2 separate regions of the Homo sapiens genome follow, and region 1 is linked to region 2. Evidence: promoter capture Hi-C in 16 types of primary human blood cells and fetal thymus (Javierre and others, 2016). All regions are on one chromosome and are shown on one strand. The core of a region is centred on a gene start or on the middle of the fragment in contact, and the rest is flanking DNA. Distances in the headings are between cores, read along the strand shown. Region 1 has its middle 29 kb from the start of LINC01144. Region 2 holds the start of PTCH2 (patched 2).

Evidence for each region. Contacts are between HindIII fragments. The CHiCAGO score rates a contact against its expected background, and 5 or more counts as called.
Region 1: a fragment that was not itself captured here is called in contact with the fragment with the promoter of PTCH2 in region 2 in 1 of 17 cell types (erythroblasts); the score reaches 5.5 in erythroblasts.

Annotation. Positions count from the first base shown.
Region 1 is chr1:45,271,917-45,278,809 of GRCh38, forward strand. No RefSeq gene overlaps it. Among named protein-coding and RNA genes, the nearest start is that of LINC01144, 29 kb to the right of the region's middle. The HindIII fragment of the contact is 1,233 bases long and covers 3,113-4,345 here.
Region 2 is chr1:44,841,885-44,849,623 of GRCh38, forward strand. It overlaps PTCH2 (patched 2), which reads right to left and starts at 1,369. Exons shown (of 22, transcript NM_003738.5): 1 at 977-1,369; 2 at 1-155. The coding sequence starts at 1,048. RefSeq lists a silencer at 1,315-1,584. The HindIII fragment of the contact is 9,661 bases long and covers 1-3,435 here.

The DNA.
Region 1 (6,893 bases), core at 2,479-4,978, 430 kb after region 2:
ATCACAGGAGTAGGTTAGTTATCATGATAGTGGGTTGCTATAAAAGCGAGTTTGGCCACTTCTTGTTCTCTTGCTCTCACACGCCCTCTCTTGCCTTTCCACTTTTCACCATGAGATGATGCAGCAAAAAGGCCCTCACCAGAGGCAGACCCTCAATGTTGGACTTCACAGCCTCCAGAACTTTAAGAAATAAATTTCTGTTCTTTTAAAATTACCCAGTCTGGGCTGGGCATGGTATCTCACACCTGTAATCCCAGCACTTTGGGAGGCTGAGGCTGGCAGATTGCTTGAACCCAAGAGTTTAAGACCAGCCTGGGCAACATGGCAAAATTCCATCTCTACAAAAAATACAAAAATCAGCCAGGTATGGTGGCATGCACCTGTGGATCCAGCTACTCGGGAGGCTCAGGTGGGAGGATCACTTGAGCCCAGGAGGTTGAGGCTGCAGTGAGCTGTGATCATGCCACTGTATTCCAGCCTGGGCAACAGAGTGAGACTCTGTCTCAAATAAAATAAAATAAAATAAAATAAATAAAATAAAATAAAATAAAATAAAATAAAATAAAATAAAATAACCCAGTCTGTGGTATTCTGGGATAACAACACAAAATGCATGAAGGTAATGCCAACCAAAAGAAAACAAAAAATTGTTCATGAATATGCTGATTTGTTCATTCAGTATTAATTGCAAAATATTTTATGGTTAGTTATCCATTGCTACATAACAAATTATCCCAGAACTTAGAGACTTAAGACAACAACAATCATTTATTATCTCTCACAGGATATAACTTGGTGTGGTGGTTCTGGCTGAGAATCCCTTGTGAGGTTACAGTTCAGATGTCAACCAGAACTGCAGCTATCTGAAAGCTTGACTGGGGCTGGAGAATCCACTTTCAAGGTAGCTTTCTCCCATCACTAGCAAGTGGTTGCTGGCTGTTTGTGGGAGGCCTCAATTCCTCTCCAGGTATCAACTAGAGAGGAATTGAGGCCTCCCACAGAATCTAGCTAATTCTTAGCGAGAGCCACCATACCAAGTTATATCTTATGAGAAAGAATAAATGATTATTGTTGTTTTAAGCCTCTAAGTTCTGGGGAAATTTGTTATGTAGCAATAGATGACTAATAATAAAATAGTTTTGCAATGAATGCTGAATGAATGAATTAGCATATTTATGAACAATTTTTTGTTTGTTTTCTTTTGGTTTGTCATTGTCTTAATCCATTTTGCGTTGCTATGACAGAATACCACAGGGGCGTTCTGGTTTTCCTCAGTGACCTCACAGCATGGTATGGCTTCCCCTGAATGAGTGATCCAAGAGTGAGAAAAATGCAGGGAGGAAGCTGTATCTTCTTTAACCCAGCCTCAGAAGTCACACACAGTCACTTCCACCACAGTCTATTTGTTAGAAGGAAGTCACTAAGTCTGGCCTTACATTCACGAGGAGGAAAAATAGACATCTGCCTTTGAAAAAAAGTGTTGGGCCAGGCACGGTGGGTGGCTCACGCCTGTAATCTTAGCACTTTAGGAGGCTGAGGCGGATGGATAATGAGGTCAGGAGTTCAAGACCAGCCTGGCCAACATAGTGAAACCTCATCTCTACTAAAAATACAAAAAACAAAAACAAAAACAAAAAACAATTAGCCAGACATGGTGGCAGGCACCTGTAATCCCAGCTACTTGGGAAGCTGAGAAAAGGAGAATTGCCTGAACTCAGGAGGCAGAGGCTACAGTGAGCCGAGATGGCACCATTGCACTCCAACCCTGGGAGACAGTGTAAGACTCTGTCTCAAAAAAAAAAAAAAAGTGTTAAAACATTTGTAGACTTTTTTTTTTTTTTTTTTTTTGAGACAGGGTCTCAGTCTGTTGCCTGGGCTGGAGTGCAGTATGGCACAATACAAAAATTAGCCAGGCATGGTAGCGTGTGTCATGAGGCTCACTGCTGCCTCAACTTCCTGGGCTCAAGTGATTCTCCTAACTCAGCCTTTTGGGTAGCTGGGACTACAAGCATGTACCACCATACCTGGCTAATTTTTGTATTTTTGGTAAAGATGAGGGTCTTGCTATGTTGCCTAAGCTGGTCTTGAACTCCTGGGCTCAAGCAATCCTCCTGCCTTGGCCTCCCAAAGTGCTGGGATTACAAGCGTGGGCCACTGTGCCTGGCCTGTGGACATTTTTTAACTACCACAACTATTTTGTGTAAGTACTGGGATAAATGCTGGGAGACCCGGTATATAAAACAGGCATGGTCCCTCTGAAACTTACAGACAAGAAAGAGGAGAGAGGCTTTAATCAAATGAACACACAAATAAATGTAAAATTACAACTGTGATAAGTTCTTGAAGGAATGATACACAATGTGATGAGAGAGAATGGTGGGGGATCTAGGGTATATCCAAAGAAGTGATGTTTTAGTCAAGATCCGAAGGAAGACTAAGGGCATCCCAGGCAGAGAGCATGTGCCTCCTATGGTAGGGAAGAACGTGGCATGATGGAGGGTCTAAAAGGAGGCTATTGGGTCTGCAGCAGAGTGCAATGAAGACTGGAGAGGGAGGCAGGGACCCCCCACAAACTGGGCCCTGGGTCTGAGTGACCATGTGACCCTGGGACAGATGCTCTGGGCCACCTAACCCCCTCTTTTTATATTGCACCCACATATGAAGCTGCAGGAGTCCAGTACCCTGTTGTTACCAAATCACTACAGGAAGACTCTCAGCCACACCTGGCCTGTGTGTACCTCTTTCACCAAGGAATGCTTAAGATAAATTCCACCCAAAGGTGTCACCTTACCTTTCTAACTCTCCTTGTAACTCTCTACCTGTTCTATACATCCTCTCAACTGACCCAGCCTCCTTCTTTGTTTTGGTCCCCAATCATTCTTCTGTATCTTCTTGAACTTCCACTCTAAGACCTACAAACTCCCTCAGATACCTACATCCCCAAGGTTTTCTTAGAGTGGAACCTGCACTTCTATCTAAACAAAAATCTGGAGATGATTCTGGGCAGTTGGCAGAGTAGGAAGAACCAAGAATATATCTCCCCACCTAGACAACAATTGCACTGTCAGATTCTGTCTGATGTAACAGTTTTGGAAATCCAGAGTCTATTGAAAGCTTGCAACTTCCAGGGGAAGACTTGGTGATAAATTGTAGTTAATTTCAGTAAATTTCAACTGTTACCACAGGAGCAGCTACCCATCTCCCACCAACAAGGAGAATGATATGATGTGTTCCTGGAGCAACCTGCACATAGCTTGTGGGAGCCAGGATGGCTCTGTTCTCCAAATATCAGGGATCTGTGCTCTGATTGCTGATTACTGCTTCTGGTAACAGAAGTGCAGAGAGTCAAAGGGCCATTGTTGTTGCACCTCCCTCCATTGCCACAAGTCCCTCCTCTATAGTTGAAGTGACTTCCTGGGGATTTAAAGGCCCAGGATCCTTTTCTTCTCTCTTTCATTTTTTCCCCTTTTGGGAGCCAGACACTGAAGACTAGGACATTAAAAAACAATTGCATATAAAGTGGTTTTTGTATGTTAAAATATATAAATTAAAATTTAAAAGTATACATGCCTAGGAAAAGGTGCAGTTTCAGAAAAGACCTGAGAAGACCTTAAGTTTTCATCTCAGGCTGATCTTTGGCACAAACACTGCATATAAAATTTAAAAAATAAATAAATAAACAAAAACAATCACAAATGCCAGCAAACCCTGAGGAGAATCTGATTTCCAGAGTTTCCACATTAGATGCAAATGTCCAGTTTTCAACAATAAAATCACAAAACATTTTTTAAAAGCCAGGAAAATATGGCCCAAAGGAAAAAATAAATCAACAGAAACTGTCCCCGAAAAAGACTTAATGGGTGATGTACTAGAGAAAGACTTTATTTTATTTTATTAGAGATAGGGTCTCATTGTCTGTCACCCAGACCACAGTGCAGTGGCCCTTATTTTTTTATTTTTATTTTTATTGCGGAGACAGAGTGTTGCTATGTTGTCCAGGCTGGTCTCAAACTCCTGGCCTCAAGTGATCCTCCTGCCTCAGCTCCCAAGGTGCTAGGATTATAGGCATGATCCACCGCACCCCACCTGTAGTGGATCTTCACAGGTGTGATCACAGTGCGCTACAGCCTTGAACTCCTGGGCTCAAGTGATTCTCCCTCTTCAGCCTCCTGAGTAGCTCGAATTACAAGTATGAGCCACTGTGCTGGCAAGAAAGACTTTAAAACAACAGTTTTAAATATGTTCAAAGAACTAAAGGAAGATGTGGAGAAAGCCAATAAAACAATGTATGAACAAAATAGTAATATAAATAGATTTTTTTTAATCTACAAAAAGTAAATTATGAAGCTTAAAAGTGCAATAACTGAAATGAAAAATTCATTAGAGGAATTCAAAGGCAGATTTAAGCAGGCAGAAGAGTCAGTGAACTGAAGGTGGGACAATGAAAATTAGTGAGTCTGGAAAACAGAAAAAAAAAGAAAAGTTGAAGGAAAGTGAACAAAGCCTAAGGGAACTCTGGGACACCATGAAGCTGACCAGCATACATATTGTGGGATTCTCAGAAGAAGAAGAGAGAGAAAGGGAGAAGGAGAGAATATTTGAATAAACAATGACAAAAAACATCCCAAATTTGATTAAAGACATGAATGTAAACATCCAAGAAGCTCAATGATATCCTAGTAAGATGCATTCAAGGAGACCCACACTGAGACATTATAATCAAAATTTCAACAGCCAAATACAAAATGAGAATCCTGAAACAGCAAGAAACAGCTCATCACAGGGGATCCTCAATAAGGTTATCAGCACATATTTCATTAGAAACTTCAGAGGCCAGAAGGCAGTGGACTGATATATTCAAGGTGCTAAAAGAAAAGAACTGTACACCAATAATTCTATATCTGTCAAAACTGTCCTTCAGCCAAGCATGGTGGCTCATGCCTGTAATCTTAACACTTTGGGAGGCTGAGGTGGGCAGATCACCTGAGGTCAGGAGTTCGAGACCAGCCTAGCCAATACGGTGAAACCCCATCTCTACTAAAAATACAAAAATTAGCTGGCTGTAGTAGCGGGTGCCTATAATCCCAGCTACTTGGGAGGCTGAGACAGGAGAATTGCTTGAACCTGGGGGGCAGAGGTTACAGCAAGCTGAGATCATGCCCCTTCACTCCAGCCTGGGCAAAAGAGCAAAACTACGTCTCAAAACAAACAAACAAACAAACTGTCCTTCAAAAGTGAGGGAGAAATTAAGATATTCCTAGATGAACAAAAGCTGAGGGAGTTAATTACCACTAGACCAGCCTTGCCAGAAATGCTTAAGGGAGTCCTGCAAGGTGAAATGAAGAAACACTAGACAATAACTTGAAGGTATATGAAGAAATAAATACTTCATTAAAAGTAAATATGTAGGCAATTATAACAAGCTAGTATTATTGTAACAATAGTTCATAACTCCACTTTTTGTTTTCTTTATTTTTTAAATTAAAGATGAGGTTTCTCTCTGTTGTCCAGGCTGGAGTACAGTAGTGTGATCACAGCTCACTGCAGTCTTGACCTCCTAGGTTCAAGTCAATCTCCTATCTCAGCCTTTCAAGTAGCTGAGACTACAGGTATGTGCCATCATACCCACCTAATTTTTATTTTTTATTTTTTAGTAGAGATAAGGTATCACTGTGTTGCCCAGGCTGGTCTCAAACTCCTGGACTCAAGCAATTCTCCCACCTTGGCCTCCCAAAGTACTGGGATTACCGGTGTAAGTGACTGCACCTGGCCAAAACTTTTTGTTTCCTACACAATTTAAGAAACTAATACATTAAAAAACAATTAGTCCAGGCCAGGCATGGTGGCTCATGCCTGTAATCCCAGCACTTTGGGAGGCCAAGGTGGGTGGATCACTTGAGGTCAGGAGTTCAAGACCAGCCTGGCCAATATAGTGAAAACCTGTCTCTACTAAAAAAAAATTAGCCAGGCATGGTAGCATGTGCCTGTAGTTCCAGCTACTTGGGAGGCTGAGGCAGGAGAATCACTTGAACTTGGGAGGTGGAGGTTGCAGTGAGCAGAGATCACAGCATTGAACTCCAGCCTAGGCAACCGAGCAAGACTCCGTCTTAAAAAATAATAATAATAATTAGTCTAAAGGCTAGTATTATTGTAGTTTTGGTTTGTAACTCTACATTTTGTTTTCTACATAATTTAACAGATAAATGCATTTAAAAATGATTATGTTTTGGGGCATAAGGATATAAAGATGTAATTTTGTGGAATCAGTAACTGAAAAGAGTGGGGGAAAAGCTGTAAAGGAGCAGAGTTTTTGTGTGTTATTGAGGCTAAGCTAGTGCAAAATCAAATTAGAGTGTTATTACATTAAGATGTTAAATATAATCCCCATGGTAAGAAAAAAGTCATAGAATATACAGAAAAGCAGGCCAGGTATGGTGGCTCATGCTTGTAATCCCAATGACTTGGAAGGCTGAGGCAAGAAGATCACTTGAGCCCAGGAGTTTGAGGTTACAGTGAGCTATGATCATGCCACTGCTCTCCAGCCTGAGTGACAGAGCAAGACTCTGTTTCTAAAACAAAATAAAACAATTAAAAACCACATGATTCAACTATATGCTGTCTACAAGAAACTCACTTTGGATCCAAAGACACACACAAATGGAAAGTGAAAGGATGGAAAAGATATTCCAAGCAAATAGTAACCAAAAGAGACAAAACAAATACCAGACAATATAGACTTTATTATTAATACTATTATTAGTTTGAGACTGTATCTTGCTTTGTCACCCAAGGTTGGAGTACAGTGGCATGATCATAGCTCACTGTAACCTCAAACTCCTAGGTTCAAGTGCTCCTCCCACCTCAGCCTCCCTAATAGCTAGGATAGGTGCATG
Region 2 (7,739 bases), core at 119-2,618:
GCCATGCGGAGACCTAATGCCAGGGCCCCAAAGGCCAACAGTCCCAGAAAGAGCACTTTGCCACAATGTCTCTGGATCCCGCATCCCAGAGAGAAGAGCAGGCCCTGGAAGTAAGCACGAAGCCAGAGTGGAGCCTTCAGGCTCCCAGCTAGGATCTGGGATGGAAAGAGAAGGGTCAGCCAGGCATCACTGCAACAATGCATGAAATCCTTCCCTTCTCACCCTGTATATCTGCTGCCCAGCCCTCGCTTCTTGATTTCTGGATGTGGGACAGGGAGCACCAACACAGACACAGGCCCAGACTTGGAAGATGTAACACCCACCATCCCCAGCACACACCTGAGGAAGGCATAGGCCTATTTTCCTTTCTTTTCTTTTTGTTTTCTCTCCTTTTTTTTTTTTTTTTTTTTTTTGAGACGCAGTCTCGCTCTGTTGCCCTGGCTGGAGTGCAGTGGTGTGATCTCGGCTGACTGCAACCTCCGCCTCCCAGGTTCAAGAGATTCTCCTGCCTCAGCCTCCCGAGTAGTTGGGACTACAGGCGCCCGCCACCACGCCCTGCTAATTTTTTATTTTTAGTAGAGACAGAGTTTCCCCATGTTGGCCTGGCTGGTCTCGAACTCCTGACCTCAGGTAATCTGCCTGCCTCAGCCTCCCAGTGTTGGGATTACAGGCGTGAGTCACCGCGCCCGGCCGGCATAGGCCCATTTTCTGAGAGCAGGATACATATGTACACACACCTGTCGTCGGGTGGACACAGAGGTGAACCCACAGACATTCATTCTCACTGGCCAGACGATGAGGAGACACCGGCACAGACACACCGACACACACGCACAACTTGCTTGCGGTGCTGGCTCTCACTTGCCTTCAGACATCTAATGACACTCGGCACTTCAAGACATCACAAACCTTGCAGAGGCCCGAGTGACAGACCTGGCTCCGCTCTCTTCCTTCTTCCAGCTCCCCCTCTACTCACCTGGGGTGCTGCGGTTCGAGCTGGGGGTGTGTAACTCGGGGGCAGCTCTCTGAGGGGCGGCGATCGAGTCATGCTGGCGGGGATGGGGGGCGCGGGCGCCCCCAACCCGCGTTATCTGGGCGCTCCCATAGGCTAGCCCGGTCTCCCGGTACCGCTGGGCCCCGCGTAGGGATTCAGTGGGGCCGCCAAGGCGCGGGCGTGGGAGAGACTGTGGGGTGTGGGTGTTAAAGCGGCTGGGAGGGAGGAGTGCAGGGAGCTGCGGGTCCGGGGCGCGGCGCCGGGATTCACCCGCTCCGTGGGCCGTGGGCCGCGGCGGCTGGAGGAGGAATGGGTCCCGCGCGCAGGCGGAATTGCTGGCCCGAGACGCACAGCAGGGCTCGAGGTGGCAACTGCAGTCCCCGGGAGGCGGCTGGAGCTCCAGAAAAGGGAGCTGGCCGGGGCGACGCCCTCCCATTGGCTGAGGGGCCCGCAAATTACCCTAGCCGCGCGGCCCGGCCCGCTGCTAGGTAACGGCGCCGCAGGGGGCGGGGCGGGAGACCACCCAGGCTGGGCCACCCCGCGCCTCCCTCCCGCCCGCGGGGCCCCAGGGAGGAGGAGGGAGGGGGATCCCGGAGAGGCGCAGCGCCGGCCAAGTGTAAGTCCAGAGGCTTACGCTGAGAAAGGGCCTTTGCGGGCTCTGTTAGGGATACACTTTTTTTTTTTTTTTTAAGACGGGGTCTCACTCTGTCACCCAGGCTGGAGTGCAGTGGCTCCATCTCGGCTTGCAGGCTCCGCCTTCCAGGCTCAAGCCATCCTCCCACCTCAGCCTCCCGAGTAGCTGGGATCACAGGCATGCACCACCACGCCCGGCTTTTTGTATTTTTGGTAGAGAACGGGTTTCGCCATGTTGCCCCGGTTGGTCTCAGACTCCCGAGCTCAGGATATCCGCCCGCCTCAGCCTCCCAAAGTGTTGGGATGACAAGCGTGAGCCACCGCGCCCGGCCTAGGGCCACAATTTCTTTTTCTTTTCTTTTTTTTTTTTTTCAGGCTTAATTCACTTTATTTTTCTTGTATAAAAACCCTATGTTGTAGCCACAGCTGGAGCCTGGATCCTCTGCGCGGAGACTCTGGTGTGGGTCTTGACGAGGTGGTCAGTGAATTCCTGATAGGGAGACTTGGTGAATACAGTCTCCTTCCAGAGGTCGGGGGTCAGGTAGCAGTAGGTCTTAGAGATGGCATCAAAGTGGGTAGGGCCACACTTTCTTTCCGACCCAATCAAAGCCCAAGATTTCTTCTGTTCACTCTTCCCGGCTTCCATTCTTGCCCTCTTCAGTCCACTCTCTCCACTGAGACCAGAGTCATTTCTCTAACATGCAAATCTGATAGCTCCAAAGCACAAGGCCCACTTGGAGCACAGGGCCCTGTGTGATCTAGCTAAAGCCTTCTCTCCCATAGTTCCCTCACATCAGTGTTCCCTCGTTCCTGCCTTTGTACATGTTTTGGTCCTTTTGTCTTGGCAGATAATCTTCAAAAACTGAACTTGAATCACCCCCAAAACCCACCTTTTTTTTTTTTTTTTTGAGGCAGGATCTCCCTCTGTTGCCCAGGTTGGAGTGCAGTGGTGCCTTCACAGCACACTGCAGCCTTGAGCTCCCAGTCTCAAGGGATCCTCCCACCTCGACCTCCCAAATGGCTGGGACTACAGGTGTGCACCACCACACCTAGCTAATTTTTGTAATTTTGTATAGACAGGGTTTTGCCATGTTGCCCAGGTTGGTCTCAAACTCCTGGGCTCAGGTCATCTGCCCACCTGGGCCTTCCAAAGTGCTGGAATTATAGGCGTGAGCCACTGTACCCAGCCTACCCCCTCTTTGAAACCTTCCTTGATTCATGTCTCTCTCCTGGCAGATAATTGCTTCTTTGTGCTCTGCATAACAACTCAATTTATATATGTATAATTGCATTTATGACACAAAAACTTATGTACTTGAAAGTCTGCCTTCTTCACCAGACAATAAATAGGTGCTTAATAATTGTTGAGTGAGTCACTAAGAGTTGCAGAATTCAGGGTGTAAAGGATTGGAAATTGGGAAGAATAGAGGCAATAGTCCCTCTATTAAACTTTCAACTATCCTATCTGAGTGTGCTGTTTCTATTGGGTTCCTGATTGATAAACCTCAAGTGGCAGAGTAGGGTAAAATCAATATTCCAATATGTAAAGTTTGAGAAAGAGAAAATGAATCTACAATAAGCTAATTTTTCTAACACAACTACTATTATCTCTGGCAAATTTCTTGGTCAGTTCTTCCAGACTTAAAAAAAATCATTCCATCATAAATATTTCATGTTACTATGTAGTTTTTGTAATCAATCATTTGGAGAATATCCTTAGGACAGATTCCCAGAAGTGGGTTGTTTGGGTCAAAGAGTATGAACATTTTTATGGCTCTTGATACACACTGCTCAACTGATTTTTTGAAAGCTTGTGCAAATTAACATCATCTCTAGAGCCTCAGTCCTGGGGAAGAGGAACATTTAGGTTGAAGGGGTGAACACCTAACAGGTTTGCCATTTCCATTTGTCCATTCACCCAGAAAAATGCCTATGGAGGAACTAATATATGTATGATGCTGTTGGCCAAACAGTAACTGCACATGAAAAGCAGCCTACCTGAATAGCACTTTCTTCTCCCTGTTATAGAGTGTGTCCTGCTGAGCATAAAGTGGCATGGTAGCTCATGCTTGTAATCCCAGCCCTTTGGGAAGCTGAGGCGGGAGGATTGCTTGAGGCCAGGAGTTCAAGCCCTGGCAACATAGTGAGACCCCATCTCTACAAAAAATAAAAAATTAGCTGGGTGTGGTGGCGCACACCTGTAGTCCCAGCTACTTGGGAGGCTGAGGCAGGAGAGTTGATAGAGGCTGCAGCGAGCTGTGATTGTGCCATTGCACTCCAGCCTGGGCGACAAAGTGAGACCCTGCCTCAAAAAACAATAATAATGATAACATAAAAAATTTAAGGTTAAAAAGAACTGTACCCCTAGCAAGTCTCTGAAATAGAAACAGCCTCTAACTTAAGTCTGTATGGGCCCCTAGTTTGCTCTTGGGGCAATAGCTGAAGACAGGGAGTGGCCTGGACTCAGCACTGGTTGTCATCAGGAGTACAACTCCCGATGCTATGCTTTAAGTAAGTCTTAATCTCCTTCCTTTTTACCAGACTCTGCAAGACATAAGGTCCATGGATAAATAGATTTGTAACCACTTGGGCCTTGGGACTCTGCTTTCATCATAGGCCCATCACTGCTAACAATTGTGACAAAGTCCACCATTTCTATGGATGCTTCCAAGGCCAAGTCTGTCTATTAAGGAAACCTCTTGCCTTATAGTTCAAAGACTAGGATGGAAGAAATGGGTCTACAGTTTCCAGCCTTTCCAACCTAGGGCCTAGTGCTGTCTGGCTGCTCCAAGCTACAAAATGACCTGTCTTCTCCCAAACAAAATGGTTTCCTGAGCCCAGCTAAGCTCAGCCAGAGCCAAAGCCATAGACCCCAGGAATAGGAAGGGATAAAGAGGCTTCTCTTCTCTTTCTGCAAGCAGCCTCCTTTATGATAGAACAGCTTGTTTCACTGTCATTTCCACTGGTCCTGGGTACGTGTTTTGGGCCTAAACTAGAGATATTCTCCAAATAACAGGATAAAAGCAATCTAATTAAATCTCATTACTGACTCATGAAACAAACGTCTTGGGATCTCCTTTTTTTAAATTTTTTCAATGAGACAGGGTCTCATTCTGTCACCCAGGCTGCAGTGCAGTGGCATGATCTTGGTGCACTGCAGCCTCTACTGCCCAGGCTCAAGTGATCCTCCCATCTCAGCCTCCCGAGTAGCTGGGACCACAGGCGCGTGACACCACGCCTGGCTAATTTTTTTGTATTTTAGTAGAGACAGAGTTTCACCGTTTTGCCCAGGCTGGTCTTGAACTCTGAGCTCAGGCAATCCACCCGCCTCGGCCTCCCAAAGTGCTGGGATTACAGGCATGAGCCACCGCGCCCAGCCTTGGGATCTCTTATGTGTCCATTCCTTTGCTGGGTTCTGGTGTTGCAGGGTACCTGCTTTTTAGAAGTTCATAGCCTGAGGGGGAGCACAGAGACCACAGGGGAAACCACTGAGTTGGGGGTACTCAGGGATGTTTCCAGAAGTGAAAGGAACTGGATGGGAGAGGTGGGAGGATGACAGAATCTAAAAGGAAAAGGAATGGCTCATGGTCTGGATCTTTCATTTGCTGGTTGTGAGATCTCAGGGAAGTCACATAATCTCTGACATTAACATAAGGATTAAATGAGATAATACATATGGCTGAGGAACAGTGCCAGGAAAAGTGAGGCAGCCCACACTCACATACACACAGTGCTGGGTAAAGTGACCAGTCTGGCTTCAGGGGTGGGTTCATGTGGGAGTTAATTCATGGTGGAGGCAAGGCAGGCTTGCTTTCTCTGGCATTCCTCTAGGCTTCTCACTCGCCAGCTTTTGGCTGCTTCTGTTATCTAGGCCAAGCAGAGTCAATGACCCTGAGATGTGGAGGAGGGAAGTGGGGGTCCTGGGCAGCCCCATCACCACCTGTTATATTTAGGGGCCAAGCCTGGGTATGTATGCTCCTTCCCTGTGGGCAGGTTGAGGCCAATAGCACCTATCAAGTATTTGTTTGTTTGAGATGGAGTTTTGCTCTTGTTGCTCAGGCTGGAGTGCAGTGGTGCCATCTTGGCTAACTATAACCTTCACCTCCTGGGTTCAAGCGATTCTCCTGCCTCAGCCTCCTGAATAGCTGGGATTACAGGCGCCCGCCACCACGTCGGGCTAACTTTTTGTATTTTTAGTAGGGATGGGGTTTCATCATGGTGGCCAGGCTGGTCTTGAACTCCTGACCTCAGGTGATCCACCCACCTTGGCCTCCCAAAGTGCAGGGATTACAGGCGTGAGCCACCGCGCCTGGCGTACCTATCAAGTATTTGGTGCCAGGGCTGCAGCCAGAGATTAGGGAATGGTCCTTCACTTTAAGTGTGGGGGAAGGAGACAGGCTAAGAACAAATGCAGCCTCTCTCTATTTATCCATGGCAGAAAGGCCCCGATGCAATCATCCTGGGTAGTGGCAGATGGCTCAGGCCAAGGACAGGTCATACTGGCTTCCAGTAGAATGTGTTCTCCTGCCCAGTCTCTCTCCCTCTGGGTCAGCTTCATTAGAGCAGAGCTTTCTAGACTTTCTGTCTGGGTGGTCCTTTCCATGGGCCTCCCCCTTCCTCAGACACATTTAACTATTTAGAAAGCTGCATACAAAGGCCTGGTTTATGTACCTCCTTAGGAGTAGGGATAGCTGTGGATAAAGAAAGTGTATCCCCTGCAATTCTCTGGAAATAGAAACAACTTCTCAACTAGGCCATGCAGGCCCTAGATTCCTGTTGGGGCTACAGCTAAACACAATTTCCCTCTCTCCACTGAGTATGGAAGTGGGATGGTAATAGTAAAGTAGTGAAGAACTGGGAAGAAGTTCGACCTTTGGCCTTGGGGAACAGCTTGGAGGGCAATCTTGGCAGTCTTATAGGCTCACAGGAGCTTATGGGCCCTCACTTCAAGTATGGGGAAAGGAGAGAGGCTAAGAACCAATGCAGCAGCTCCCCATTTATCCATGGCAGAAGGCCCCTGATGCAATCATCCTGGGTAGTGGCAGTCTTCTCGGCTCAAGGAACTCTTGCCAGCAGGCAAGGATGAATTGTAACTGGGGGATGGATTCCTGGAGTAGCAGCTGTCAAGTTTTGTCTGACCCGGCAAGCTCCCGGAACCCTGTTCCTCAGCACATCCCCAGGGTCCTCCCTGATTCGGCATTCGAGGTCCCCTTTCTCCTCTTCCTCCACTTCCCTCATTGAGCATCACTGGGAGAGGCAGGGCAGACCCTATTAACTCTTCTGCCTGCCTTGCTTTTCTGATTTCTGTCCATGGAGAGGTGGCCGGCCAGTGGACATTCAGTTGCTCACTATGTTTCAGACATACTCAGCCCCTCTGTAGCTGCTACCAAAAGAAAACAAAAACTGTCCCTGCCTTCTGGCAGACAAACAGGGCAAAGAGAAGAAAAATCAAAGCATCTTGGGCACCCAGCCAGTCCTGGAACTGTCAGACAATAGCAGCAGTGTCCTGAGCTGGGGGCTGCTCCCAGCTGGGACTCAAACTCAACAACACCTTCCTCTGGGAAAGCTTTTACCTTTTGTTTTCTCCAGCTCCTTCCTTTCCTTGATGCAGAGGCCGTTCCATGGACTTGTGCAAAGGGAAGGCACAGGAGAGGTTTTTCCTCTGTCTCACTGTCAGGGGTTCTAAGGGCTCCATGGGGAAGGACAGGAAAGGGTACATAGGAGGGCTCTGAGACAGTTTAATCAATGCCCTTTACTCCTCCACCGCACTTTCCCTCCCAACCCTTTTCTCTGCTCAAGGAGCAATCTTCTGGCTCCTTGGGAGACCCTAAGGGGAAGAAAGCTCTGGGAAAGAGGACAAAACCTGAGAAACAGAAGGGCCTTTAACATTCAAACAGTCGAACTTTCTCATTTTGCAGATGGAAACACTCAAGGTCAGAGAGGAGAGAGTGATTTGACCCAAACCAAACAACATTACAGAGGACAGATTTTCTTCCACCCAGGCCAGGACTCTGTCTCCAGCACCATCTAGGCCCCACCAATTTAATTTCAGTTCCAAAGGGGACCATGTTGGGCACCACCACAGCTCTTTATCCCCACATCCCTCTCAGCC